Linked DNA regions of Homo sapiens: regions 2 and 3 are each linked to region 1. Evidence: promoter capture Hi-C in 16 types of primary human blood cells and fetal thymus (Javierre and others, 2016). All regions are on one chromosome and are shown on one strand. The core of a region is centred on a gene start or on the middle of the fragment in contact, and the rest is flanking DNA. Distances in the headings are between cores, read along the strand shown.

Region 1 (3,730 bases), core at 619-3,118:
AGGTCAGGAGTTCGAGACCAGCCTGGCCAACATGGTGAAACCCTGTCTCTATTAAAAATACAAAAAAATTTAGCCAGGCATGGTGGTGCACACTTGTAGTCCCAGCTACTCCGGAGGCTAAAGCAGGAGAATCACTTGAGCCTGGGAGGTGGAGGTTGCAATGGGCCAAGATCACGCCACTGCACTCTACCCTGGGTGACAGAGTGAGACTCTGTCTCAAAATAAATAAATAAATAAATAAATAAAAGTTGCTTGAACTTAATATCAAGAATTTTGAAGAAAAGGAAGCAAACAAATACCAGGCATGAGCTGAGGGGGTAAATTAACATTAACTGAATGCCTATGATGTGCCATAAACCATAAACTACCTCAAGGTGGGTATTATCCTTGTTTCAGAGAAACTCAAGTTAAGCTACTTGTTCAAGGTTAGTCAGTGACAGAAACCAGTCTTCCTGACTCCAAAGTCCACAGTTTCTCTCTCTTTTTTTTTTTTTTTTTTTGAGATGGAGTCTTGCTCTGTCACCCAGGCTGGATGGAGTACAGTAGAGCAATCTCGCTTACTGCAGCCTTCAACTCCTGGGTTCAAGCAATTCTCCTGCTTCAGCCTCCCGAGTAGCCAGCATTACAGGCATGCACCACCATGCCCAGCTGTTTTTTTTTTTTTTTTTTTTTGTTATTTTTAGTAGACACAGGGTTTCCCCATGTTGGCCAGGCTAGTCCTGAACTCCTGACCTCAAGTGATCTGCCTGCCTCTGGCCTGGGATTACAGGCTGTGCCACTGCGCCCAGTCCAAAGTCCATGCTTTCTACAGGACTTTTCCTTTGCTCCTACAGATGTCTGGCCCTAAACAGAAAAAAAGCCTTTTCAGTGTGGCGACCTAAGGGAGAAAAGACATGGCTGCAAATCTACCTTCCAAGGAAATGTGTCTTGGGGAAACATTAATGAAGCAAACTAAGGCCTAAGCTAAGGCCTAAGCACTTAAGTAATAGCTTTACTCAGTGCCCCTGCCACAACCAATAAGGTACTTGAGGCGACTTCAGAGGGGTTGATTTGTCTCTTCAGGAGAGACACACATCTGCCCTGACTCTTAGGGCTTGTTTCTATTAAGTACCCAGCTAGATTAGGATGAAGTCACTTCTACCTTACCGGCTTATCTTCTTAAGAGCAGCTCCCTCTCTGACAAACTGGCCAGATGCTCAGCGTCTGGAAAAGTGAGTGAGAACCTCCAACGTAGGGTAGGTGTTTTGAGGATTTATGAGGTGGGCAATGGTGGGTACTGGGGAAGGAAAACAAAGTGAAGGGCCGGAGATCTAGGTGGGCCCAATTCCGAGAGGCAAGCGAGGCTGCGGGCACTGAGAGGGCAGCGGCAGCCAGTGCTGGGTGACCGTCAGGGTCTCACCTTTCACTGCCAGGCGGATGTTCAAACAGAGTTTGGAGAAGATGCGACTCCTTTCGACGTCCTTCGGACCCTTGATGTGCCTGACTTTGGACCACTTGTTGTGCCCGGCGGGGACAGCCGCGGTAAAGTGCAGCGTCCTGCCCGGAGCGGCACCGCAGCCCCGGGGCTCGGGGTGGGAGGGCCGGGGGTCGCGCGGAGGAGCCGCCCTGACCCCGGGGCCTCGTGCCAGCAAGCATCGGGCAGCGGCCCTGCTTAGGCTGGCAGCAGCCCAAGCCGACATCGGTCCCGACCCTGGGGTTCAAGCTGCTAGCAGCAGCGGCCAACGCCGGCGCGTCTCTTCCACTGCCGGAACAAGCAGTTCCGGACCCCGCGGCCGCCTGTGCCGGTCACCTGAGATCCAAAGGCTTGGGCCCGCCCGGGGCGGCTCAACAGCTAATGACCCTACACTGTCCCCGCGGCACCCGGGACTGGGGGCCCTTGATGGCGTAGCACACTTCCTTTACCGGGTTCGCTCCAAAAACACGTCCCCACTGCCCGCAAAGTCCGTTCCGTGGCTGCACGGTACTCGCTCCTCTCTTGCCCTTGAGCAGATCTAGTTAGTGCTCAAGCCCTCACGGTTGCCTAGAGAGCGCCGGACTTTGTTTCTCATAATGTTTTAGTGGAGACACATCTGAGTTATGAAACTGACTTTGCTTCCAAATTGCTGCCTAAATCTGAGCAAGTCCAGAATGATATTTTGTTGTTGCCTCATTGTACTGGGAAAGAAACTGCTGCCAGAGAAGTGAATTGCCCAAATGTTTAATCTCTCTGAACGTCTTCCCTATTTATAAATAAGGATCTAATATTTGCTTTATCAACATAGGAAAGTTAGAAACACAAAATGAGCCCTTAGAGCTTTAAAGTAATAAAGTTTTATGTAAATAGCCACAGTGCACTTAAGCCCCTAGATGCAAGAGATGGTTTGGGACAGACTCAGATGAGTCACAGGCCTTTGGGAGAGGGAGAATGATCAGACAAGCCCTTTGGAGCTAAACTCCCCTCTTCATTTTCTCTCTGCTGTCTCGAAAGAGAAAACCGAATCCGTTAGAAGATGGAGAGAAACAAAGCGGCAGCTGCTGAAAAGCTTTGTAGTGACTCCCATGCTGGTGAGATTAAGTCCAAAGGGCATGACATATCAGGTAGAGAAGCAGGACAGCCGGGCGCGGTGGCTCACGCCTGTAATCCCAGCACTTTGGGAGGCTGAGGCAGACGGATCGCTAGGTCAGGAGTGCCAGACCAGTCTGACCAACATGGTGAAACCCCGTCTCTACTAAAAATACAAAAAAATTAGCCGGCCGTGGTGGCGCGCGCCTGTAATGCCAGCTACTCAGAAGGATGAGGCAGGAGAATCGCTTGAACCCGGGAAGAGGAGGTTGCAGTGAGCCGAGATCGCGCCACTGCACTCCAGCCTGTGCGACAGAGCGAGAATCCAACTCAAAAAAAAAAAAAAAAAAGAGAGAGAGAGAGAGAGAGAAGCAGGACAGTGTGAAGTCCAAGTTTGTGCCCTCTGCAGTTAGACTGGGTGGCTTCAAACCCTGGTTGTTCCATTTTCTAGTGTATCCTTGGGCAAGTTCCTTTACTTTCCTGTTTCAGTTTCCTTACCATAGAATGGCCTTGTGAGGACTAAATGGGATAATGGATGCAAAGCACAAAAGCATAGATTTTTTATTTTTTATTATATAAGAACCTCCATGGGGCTGGGTGCGGTGGCTCACGCCTGTAATCCTAGCACTTTGGGAGGCCGAGGCTGGCAGATCACTTGAGGTCAGGAGTTCAAGACCAGCCTGGTCAACATGGTGAAACCCCGTCTCTACTAAAAATACAAAAATTAGCCAGGTGCGGTGGGTGCCCATAGCCCTTCATACATGCTTGCACCTTAGCACTTACCTTTTAAAAAAATATCAAAATGTTTATATCTGTTTCTACCGTAATACTAAATTCTCTGAGAGTAGGACTGTACTTCCTATGCCCAACACAGTTCTCATTTTTTAAAAAATTAAGTTTTGACATATTTCACAGATCACACAGATCACCAATTCAAAGTGTACAATGTGTTATAGAATATTCAGAGCTGTGCACAATTGATTTTACATTTTCATCATCCCCAAAAGAAGTCCTGTACCCATTAGCAATCATTCCCTATTTCCCCCCAATTCCCACAGCCCTAGGCAATCACCAATTTACTTCTGTCTCTGTGGGTTTGCCTCTTCTGGACATTTAATATGAATGGGCCCACACACTATGTGGCCTTTGGTAACTGGCTTCTTTCACTTAGCATGATGTTTTCAGGAT
Region 2 (4,195 bases), core at 1,554-4,053, 190 kb after region 1:
CGGTAACGTCTGACAACCTTCAAAGAAAGGAGAAAACAAAAAGTTGTAGGAGAGGAAAAAAAAATGGATGAAGGTGAAAAAAAAAAAAAGAAGGAAAAAGCAGCAGTGAGAGGCAGGCAGCACAAAGCCAGCATATCAGCCAACCCTCGTCTATAGGTCTGTGGGCTTGGGGAGCAGCTGGGACAGCGGCAGCAGGGACTTGAGTCTGAAGCACATTCAGAGCAAGGGAAAGCAAAGGCTCACGGCAGCGCAGAGATCCAGGATGCTGATAGAGTGGGGCTGGAACAGAGGCAGTGCTGAGAGGTGCTTAAGGCCAGAGCAGCCTCCTGGCTAAGGCTACAAGGGACATGGTAGAGAACCACGTGGTTCTGGACACAGGGGACTGCAGACCATGGCTCAGATGGCGCTTTCCCTGGGCCAAGAGCCTCTCTGTTCACTTGGACAATAATTGGGCCAGGGAGGAGGGGGAACTATATACACTCACACCAAATACCCAGGGCAGCCAGACCACTGGACCAGTCTGGCCCCTGGGCACAGATGGCCAACATCCTCTTCCCTTCTCCTACCTATCTTGGCTCCTTTCTTCAGAAGAGTGACAACAACAGAAGTGTTCCGGCACCCCACTGCCCTATCCAAAGGGCGCATTCCACTGTAGTCAACGTGCTCGATCATGGCCCCATGATCTACCAGGAACTGGACCTAGGACACGGATCAAGCAGAGAAGTTAGGACAGGCGTAATGGCTCAGCACTGTTCCACCGAGGGCTCTGGCTGCTGCCTGCCCTTTTTCAACTGCTGGCCTACCCCAGGCTATGCTGCCATGTATTTCAGGCCTTAGCTATATCCTTGATCTTTAACAGCATTTTGAATATTCTTGCTCTCTAGCAAGTATAGATCTGAGAGCTCTGTATCAGGAATCATCAATACATCACTCCACTTTCAACCCCAGGTAGTATGGATGGAGAATAGCCCCTCTCTCTGCTCTCTTGAGGCTTGTTTAAAGGTACTTACCACCTCAGCATCGCCATAGAAAGCTGCCAGATCCAGTGGGGTACGGCCATTCTTGTCAGCATGGTCTGTGGCAGCTCCGTTATCCACCAGAGAACGTACTACTGAGAGATGGCCCTTCAAACAAGCCCAGCTGAGGGCTGTCAATCCTTCTTTGTCCATAAGAGCAATGGAGGCACCTGCAAAGGCAAGTGATAGCACAGGGCTGAGGAGACATGGAATCACACAGCAGGAGGGGAAGTACGCTGAAGGGGCATGCTCCTGCAAAGAACACTGCTCGTTTCTGGACTATTTCCATTTTAAGACTGATGCTGGTATGCCAGTTGTATCTCAACTGTTAAAAGTTCATCCTATAAGCTTTCAATAAAACAGATTCCAGTCGTTTTACTGAGTATTCAGGGTCATCCACAGTCTATTCCTAATTACTCTCTATACCTGTTTTATTATTCCCCTGTGAGAATCCTCCACTTTGGCCAAATGGATGTGCTCACTGCCTCTCGGATCTCCCGTCAATCCTCCCGCATCCTCACTCTCTGCCTCTCGGATCTCCCGTAAATCCTCCTGCATCCTCACTCTTGGTCATGCTGCTCCATGTGTGGAAGAGCTTTTCTTCCCCCATGACTTGCCTCACTTCTCATTCTCTAGGAACTATCTCCATCCTCCTGCCTCTAAGAAGCTTCTCACAGTTCACTGCTACCTCATCTTAAGTATGCTTAACATAAGTCAACTTATTCCATTATTTCTTTTTATGTATACTATTTGCATGTAATAAATTCTCAATGAGCATTTTCTTCTGCTTCTTTTTTTTTTTTTTTTTTTTTTTTTTTTTGAGATGGAGTCTTGCTCCGTTGCCCTGGCTGGAGTGCAGTGGCCCAATCTTGGCTCACTGCAACCTCCACCTCCCGGGTTCAGACAATTCTCCTGCCTCAGCCTCCTAAGTAGCTGGGATTAAAGGCATGCACCACCATGCCTGGCTAATTTTTGTATTTTTAGTAGAGATGGGGTTCACCATGTTGGCCAGGCTGGTCTTGAACTCCTGACCTCAAGTGATCCACCTGCCTCGGCCCTCACTGCACCAGAGTTCGGTGAATGTTTTCTGAGCTGAGCAGAAGCCTTCCATTGATAATAGTGCTAACTCCTTGAGACAGTCTCATCAAATAGGAGCCCAGGACATGTTTGTCATTGATCACGATGCCAGGGCCCCTTCTCCCTCCCCAGGTGGGGGAAATAAACACGAGAGGACACTGAGCCCAGGACAAGAAAGAAATCTAGAGTTTAATCTAATAAAGTTAAATTCATAGAATCAAAGAATAAAATGGTGGTTACCAGAAACTAGGAGATGGGGGGGGGGGATTGGAGAGATGTTGGTCAAAGACACAAAATTCACTTAGAAAGAAGAAATAAGTTCAAGAGATCTACGGTACTAGTTACTAACTAGTACACTAAATCTACTCTATAGTTAACTATAGTCATAGTGATAGTTAATAACAATATATACTTGAAAACTGTTGTGAAAGTACATTTTAAGCATTTTCACCAGAAGAAAAAAGTGTGTAAGGTAATGCACACATTAAGTAGCTTGATTTAGCCATTCCACAATGTATACATATACAGCTTGAGTATCCCTCATCTGAAAATCTGATTTCAGAAATGCTCCACAATCTGAACCTTTTTGAGCACCAACATGACACTCAAAGGAAATACTCATTGCAGCATTTTGGATTTCACATTTTTGGATTAGAAATGCTCAACCAGTAAGTATAATGCAAATACTTCAAAATGCAAAAAATAAAATCCCAACAGAAGTGTTTCAGATAAGCGATATATAACTAAGCATTTCAGATAAGGGATATACAGCCTGCATCAAAACATCATGTTGTACACCATAAATACTGTTCCTTTTTATGGTTAGATATGTTTAGCTACACAAATACCACTGTGTTACAACTGTTTACAGTAACTCAGTGCAGTTAATACGCTGTACAGGTTTGTAGCCTAGGAGCACCAGGCTATACTATACAGCCTAGGTGTGTAGTAGGCTATACCATCTAGGATTGTGTAAGTGCACTCTATGATGTTTACAAATGACAAAATCACCTAAGGACACAATTCTTGGAATGCATTTCTCTGAACATCTCCCCTTTGTTAAGTGATACATAACTGCATATACCATTTTTACTTGTCAATTAAAAAAATAAATATTTGGCTGGGTGCAGTAACTCACACCTATAATCCCAGCACTTTTGGAGGCCGAGGTGGGAGGACTGCTTGAGGCCAGAAATCTGAGACCAGCCTGGGCAACATGGTGAGACTGTCTCTACAAAAAACTAAAAAATTAGCCAGGTGTGGTGGTGGTGTGAGCCTGTAGTCTTAGCTACTAGGAAGGCTGAGATGGGAGGATGAGATGGGAGGATCGCTTGAGCCCAGGGGTTCCAGGCTTTGGTGAGCTATGATCAGGCCACTGCACTCCAGCCTGGGTGATGGAGTGAGACCTTGCCTCTAAAAAAAGACAAAAACAAAAACAAAAAACAAATACAAATAAACAAAAAATTCAGAGTTTAAACTACTCAGCCTTATTCAATAACTCCATCCCCACTTTTAAATTCTCCACCCACCCTTTCATATTCTGGATCTGTTTCCCTTCAACATTTCTATTTTCACTTGAAAGGATCAAGCATACCTGACATGCTGTTTTGTAATCAGTCTAAAATCCAATATACATTTGGTTCTTAAGACCCAGACTGTAAGGCCTTCAATGGTAAGAAGCGAATCATTTACTTGCTAGAAGAGTACCTAAGACAACGCTTTTCACACAGTAGGCATGTCATATTTAACTACATCAGAGATCAACTTACTGCACCAGGACACTTGGCTGCCCCCTCAGCTGGACAGGATTCGGATGTCAGCTCAAGCTTAGCACCTGCCACAGCAGGCTCAGGGTTTACTCAGCAGTTATCTAGCCTATCACCTTTGCATCTCTGGAGGTCATTAGAGTCTATGGTTTCCCACAGGAGGATGAAAAGCTGGAAGGGACCATCCCTTAATCCTGATGAGAGCCATTTATGTAATGGTATAGTTTGCAATTAAAACACTGACTCTAATATGGAATAAGTTTAAATACGGAACAGAATCCAAGGCGTTTTCTCAGATGCAACATCTATAAATTTCCTGGACAAAGTATCCAGTGG
Region 3 (3,960 bases), core at 471-2,970, 220 kb before region 1:
GCCTCAGCCTCCCGAGTAGCTGGGACAACAGGCGCCTACCACCACGCCTGGCTAATTTTTTGTATTTTTAGTAGAGACGGGGTTTCACCGTGTTAGCCAGGATGGTCTCGACCTCCTGACCTCGTGATCTGCCCACCTCGGCCTCCCAAAGTGCTGGGATTACAGGCGTGAGCCACCGCGCCCGGCTGATAGATTTATTCTTGAAGAACTAGAACATCAGAAAAGAACTTAGGTTATAGTAGATGCTGCCAGGTTACTTGAGTTTCAAGCACAGATGAATAGAGGATCTCCCTCAGAGGGGAGCAGCATTCTTTAGTTCATTGAGACCAAGTGAGCACTCGCATTAGGGTACTTCCACTGAATACTGAAGAACATGTTTTTCCTGACAAAATCAGGGTCACAAACAAAATGAACTTTTGTGGCTTATGTGTGGGAGTGTCATAATCAGGTCATCTTTGTTGTACAGGAGGGCAGTAGAGCATGGTGGCCCTAGAGCAGACACAGGCTCAGGTTTCCTTCCCAGCTCTACCACCTGGAGCTTTGTGAAGTGACTGAGCTGACTACCACTTATCCTTGCTGCCTCAGTTTCCTCATCTGTAAAACAATAATAGAACCTACCTACTAGAGTTTTTGGTGAGGAATAAAAAAAGATAGGTGTAATCCCTCATATGTGATAAACACTCAAGAAATAGTAGTTGGAGTTTTTCCTTTGAGACAAGATCTTGTTTTGTCACCCAGGCTGGAGTTCAGTGGTGCCATCATGACTCACTGCAGCCTCAAACTCCTGGCATCAAGCAATCCTCCTGCCTCAGCCTCCCAAAATGCTGAGATTACAGGTGTGAGCCACCATACCCAGCCTAGTATCTTTACCATGAGGAAAATAAAAGGTTCTGACAATTGGTTTAAGTGGAACAGTTTTGTTGGATGTATGTTGGCTGGGCCCCTTTTATTCAGTGGAAACAAACTGTGTAGACGGTATTCTCAGGAGATGATTGAGATGCTGTCTGAGAATAATTTTTAAAGGAAAACCAGTGTTGTAGAATATGTTAAGATTTGGTGCTATGTGGGCTGTAGGTACCTTCCTTAAGACCTATTTGTGATACCACTGAGACAAGACAGCTGAGTGGGATAGATCAGTAACCCAGCCTAGAACGGGATGTTGTAAACAGGCCATTCACTACCCTGGATCTGAGCTTTCCCATCTGTGAAAGGATAATGGATTTGCCAGTGTTCTTTCTAGTGTTGCTGAGCATAGACTGAGGTGAGGGACACAGAAAAAAAAACAGTATATTTCCTTTTAAATAGTTTACCTTTGTTTCTGTTACACTTCAGTTATTAGAGGAAGTAACACAAGGGGATATGAGTGCAGCAGACACATTTCTGTCCGATCTGCCAAGGGATGATATCTATGTGTCAGATGTTGAGGACGACGGTGATGACACATCTCTGGATAGTGACCTGGATCCAGAGGAGCTGGCAGGAGTCAGGGGACATCAGGGTCTAAGGGACCAAAAGCGGTAAGGGGCACGTGTGCACCAAAGGGAATGCTGCCACTCTGAGGAAGTGTTAGGGTGGGTACTACCAGAGCCTGAGTAGGGCAGCAAGGGCTCCAGGCAATCTGGGTCTCTGAGCCCCCTACTTTCCTTTGGGTCTACAGTATGCGACTTACTGAAGTGCAAGATGATAAAGAGGAGGAGGAGGAGGAGAATCCACTGCTGGTACCACTGGAGGAAAAGGCAGTACTGCAGGAAGAACAAGCCAACCTGTGGTTCTCAAAGGTAAGGAGAGGCCGGGGGCAAGACTGCGGGGAGATGAGTCTTCCTTGGGAGAAGGGCAGCTGATGTTCTCCTATCACAGGGCAGCTTTGCTGGGATCGAGGACGATGCCGATGAGGCCCTGGAGATCAGTCAGGCCCAGCTGTTATTTGAGAACCGGCGGAAGGGACGGCAGCAGCAGCAGAAGCAGCAGCTGCCACAGACACCCCCTTCCTGTTTGAAGACTGAGATAATGTCTCCCCTGTACCAAGATGAAGCCCCTAAGGGAACAGAGGCTTCTTCGGGGACAGAAGCTGCCACTGGCCTTGAAGGGGAAGAAAAGGATGGCATCTCAGACAGTGATAGCAGTACTAGCAGTGAGGAAGAAGAGAGGTGAGTAGTTGCAGCTGAGAGAAGGGATGGAAAGGAAGCGGTGGCTTGAACCATTTCTCTAAATTGGGGGTTCTTAATCTTGGCTGCACATGGGGAGGGTTAAAAATACTGTACTGACGATCCTGATTTAACTGGTCTGGGGTACAGCCTGCATGGCAGGATTTTTGCAAATTCCGTGGGAGTGCGGTCTGAGTAGTACAGAGTGGTGGAATCACTCAGAGTCCTCCCCTCTTCACAGCTGGGAACCCCTCCGTGGTAAGAAGCGAAGCCGTGGGCCTAAGTCAGATGATGACGGGTTTGAGATAGTGCCTATTGAGGACCCAGGTGAGAGCTCTGTATGCAGTGGAATGAGAAAAGACCACTGGAAGTCTCAGTATTGGGAATTGAGCTTTGACCTTTCTCCTTCCCTCTCTAGCGAAACATCGGATACTGGACCCCGAAGGCCTTGCTCTAGGTGCTGTTATTGCCTCTTCCAAAAAGGCCAAGAGAGACCTCATAGATAACTCCTTCAACCGGTAAAGGGGCCATAAACTCATCAAGAGTGACCCAGGGTCTGGTGGGTAAATGGGTAATTTTTTGTTTTTGAGATGGAGTCTCGCTCTGTTGCCCAGGCTGGAGTGCAATGGCACGATCTTGGCTCACTGCAGCCTGATTCTCCTTGAATCGCTTGAGTCAGCCTTCTGAGTAGCTGGGATTACAGGTGCCAACCACCACGCCCAGCTAATTTTTGTATTTTTAGTAGAGATGGGGTTTCACCATGTTGGCCAGGCTGGTCAAACTCCTGACCTCAGGTGATCTGCCCACCTCAGCCTCCCAAAGTGCAGGGATTACAGGCGTGAGCCACCGTGCCCAGTCTGGTAATTTCTTTAGAAAGCCTGGAATGTTGGATATTAGACAGATGTCCTTTCCACTCAGGTACACATTTAATGAGGATGAGGGGGAGCTTCCGGAGTGGTTTGTGCAAGAGGAAAAGCAGCACCGGATACGACAGTTGCCTGTTGGTAAGAAGGAGGTGGAGCATTACCGGAAACGCTGGCGGGAAATCAATGCACGTCCCATCAAGAAGGTGGCTGAGGCTAAGGCTAGAAAGAAAAGGAGGGTAAGTGATGGGGCCTCCAGAGATTGGGTGGGGTGGGGGTGGGGGGATGGGGAAGAGGTCACCTGACAGGTTCCTTTGCAGATGCTGAAGAGGCTGGAGCAGACCAGGAAGAAGGCAGAAGCCGTGGTGAACACAGTGGACATCTCAGAACGAGAGAAAGTGGCACAGCTGCGAAGGTAATGGGAGGACACCACAAAGGTACACAGGGCTAAAAGTGCAGCAGAAAGCAAGCCTCTAACCTCTTCTCTTCCCCCCTGTAGTCTCTACAAGAAGGCTGGGCTTGGCAAGGAGAAACGCCATGTCACCTACGTTGTAGCCAAAAAAGGTGTGGGCCGCAAAGTGCGCCGGCCAGCTGGAGTCAGAGGTCATTTCAAGGTGGTGGACTCAAGGATGAAGAAGGACCAAAGAGCACAGCAACGTAAGGAACAAAAGAAAAAACACAAACGGAAGTAAGCAGAGCTGCCAGGCTCCCAGGAGAGCATGGGGACTAGGAGGAAGGGTGTGGCATGGCTCAGTCTGGCCCCCTTGATTACCGGCCTAGCCCCTGCTCACATCACAGCTGTCTGAAGAACAGTGAGGTGGAGTGCCTAGAACTCCCGTGGTGGTCCTGAGCAGAGAGGAGGATGTCCTCCTGCCTGCCTGAAGGTCTCCCATGAAAACACTGCTGAACTGTGTTGACACTCATGACCCTTTTTTTAAACCGTTAAAGGGAAG

The links. The method cuts DNA at HindIII sites, captures the fragments that hold promoters and counts their contacts. A CHiCAGO score of 5 or more calls a contact.
Region 2: a fragment that was not itself captured here is called in contact with the fragment with the promoter of TACO1 in region 1 in 7 of 17 cell types (non-activated CD4 T cells, total CD4 T cells, activated CD4 T cells and 4 more); the score reaches 7.3 in non-activated CD4 T cells.
Region 3: a fragment that was not itself captured here is called in contact with the fragment with the promoter of TACO1 in region 1 in 1 of 17 cell types (neutrophils); the score reaches 7.1 in neutrophils.

What each region holds. Positions count from the first base shown.
Region 1 is chr17:63,599,033-63,602,762 of GRCh38, reverse strand. TACO1 (translational activator of cytochrome c oxidase I) reads right to left here and starts at 1,868. Exons shown (of 5, transcript NM_016360.4): 1 at 1,400-1,868. The coding sequence starts at 1,679. The HindIII fragment of the contact is 11,259 bases long and covers 1-2,524 here.
Region 2 is chr17:63,408,502-63,412,696 of GRCh38, reverse strand. It overlaps TANC2 (tetratricopeptide repeat, ankyrin repeat and coiled-coil containing 2), which reads right to left. Exons shown (of 28, transcript NM_001394998.1): 22 at 1,011-1,186; 23 at 567-699; 24 at 1-17. All of the region lies in intron 2 of LOC105371856 (a long non-coding RNA gene), which reads left to right. Among named protein-coding and RNA genes, the nearest start is that of CYB561, 36 kb to the left of the region's middle. The HindIII fragment of the contact is 2,236 bases long and covers 1,686-3,921 here.
Region 3 is chr17:63,819,541-63,823,500 of GRCh38, reverse strand. FTSJ3 (FtsJ RNA 2'-O-methyltransferase 3) reads left to right here. Exons shown (of 21, transcript NM_017647.4): 14 at 1,333-1,517; 15 at 1,658-1,778; 16 at 1,858-2,147; 17 at 2,386-2,471; 18 at 2,563-2,662; 19 at 3,063-3,246; 20 at 3,328-3,422; 21 at 3,507-3,960. The coding sequence ends at 3,699. Among named protein-coding and RNA genes, the nearest start is that of PSMC5, 5.9 kb to the left of the region's middle. RefSeq lists an enhancer at 2,477-3,676. The HindIII fragment of the contact is 6,337 bases long and covers 1-3,960 here.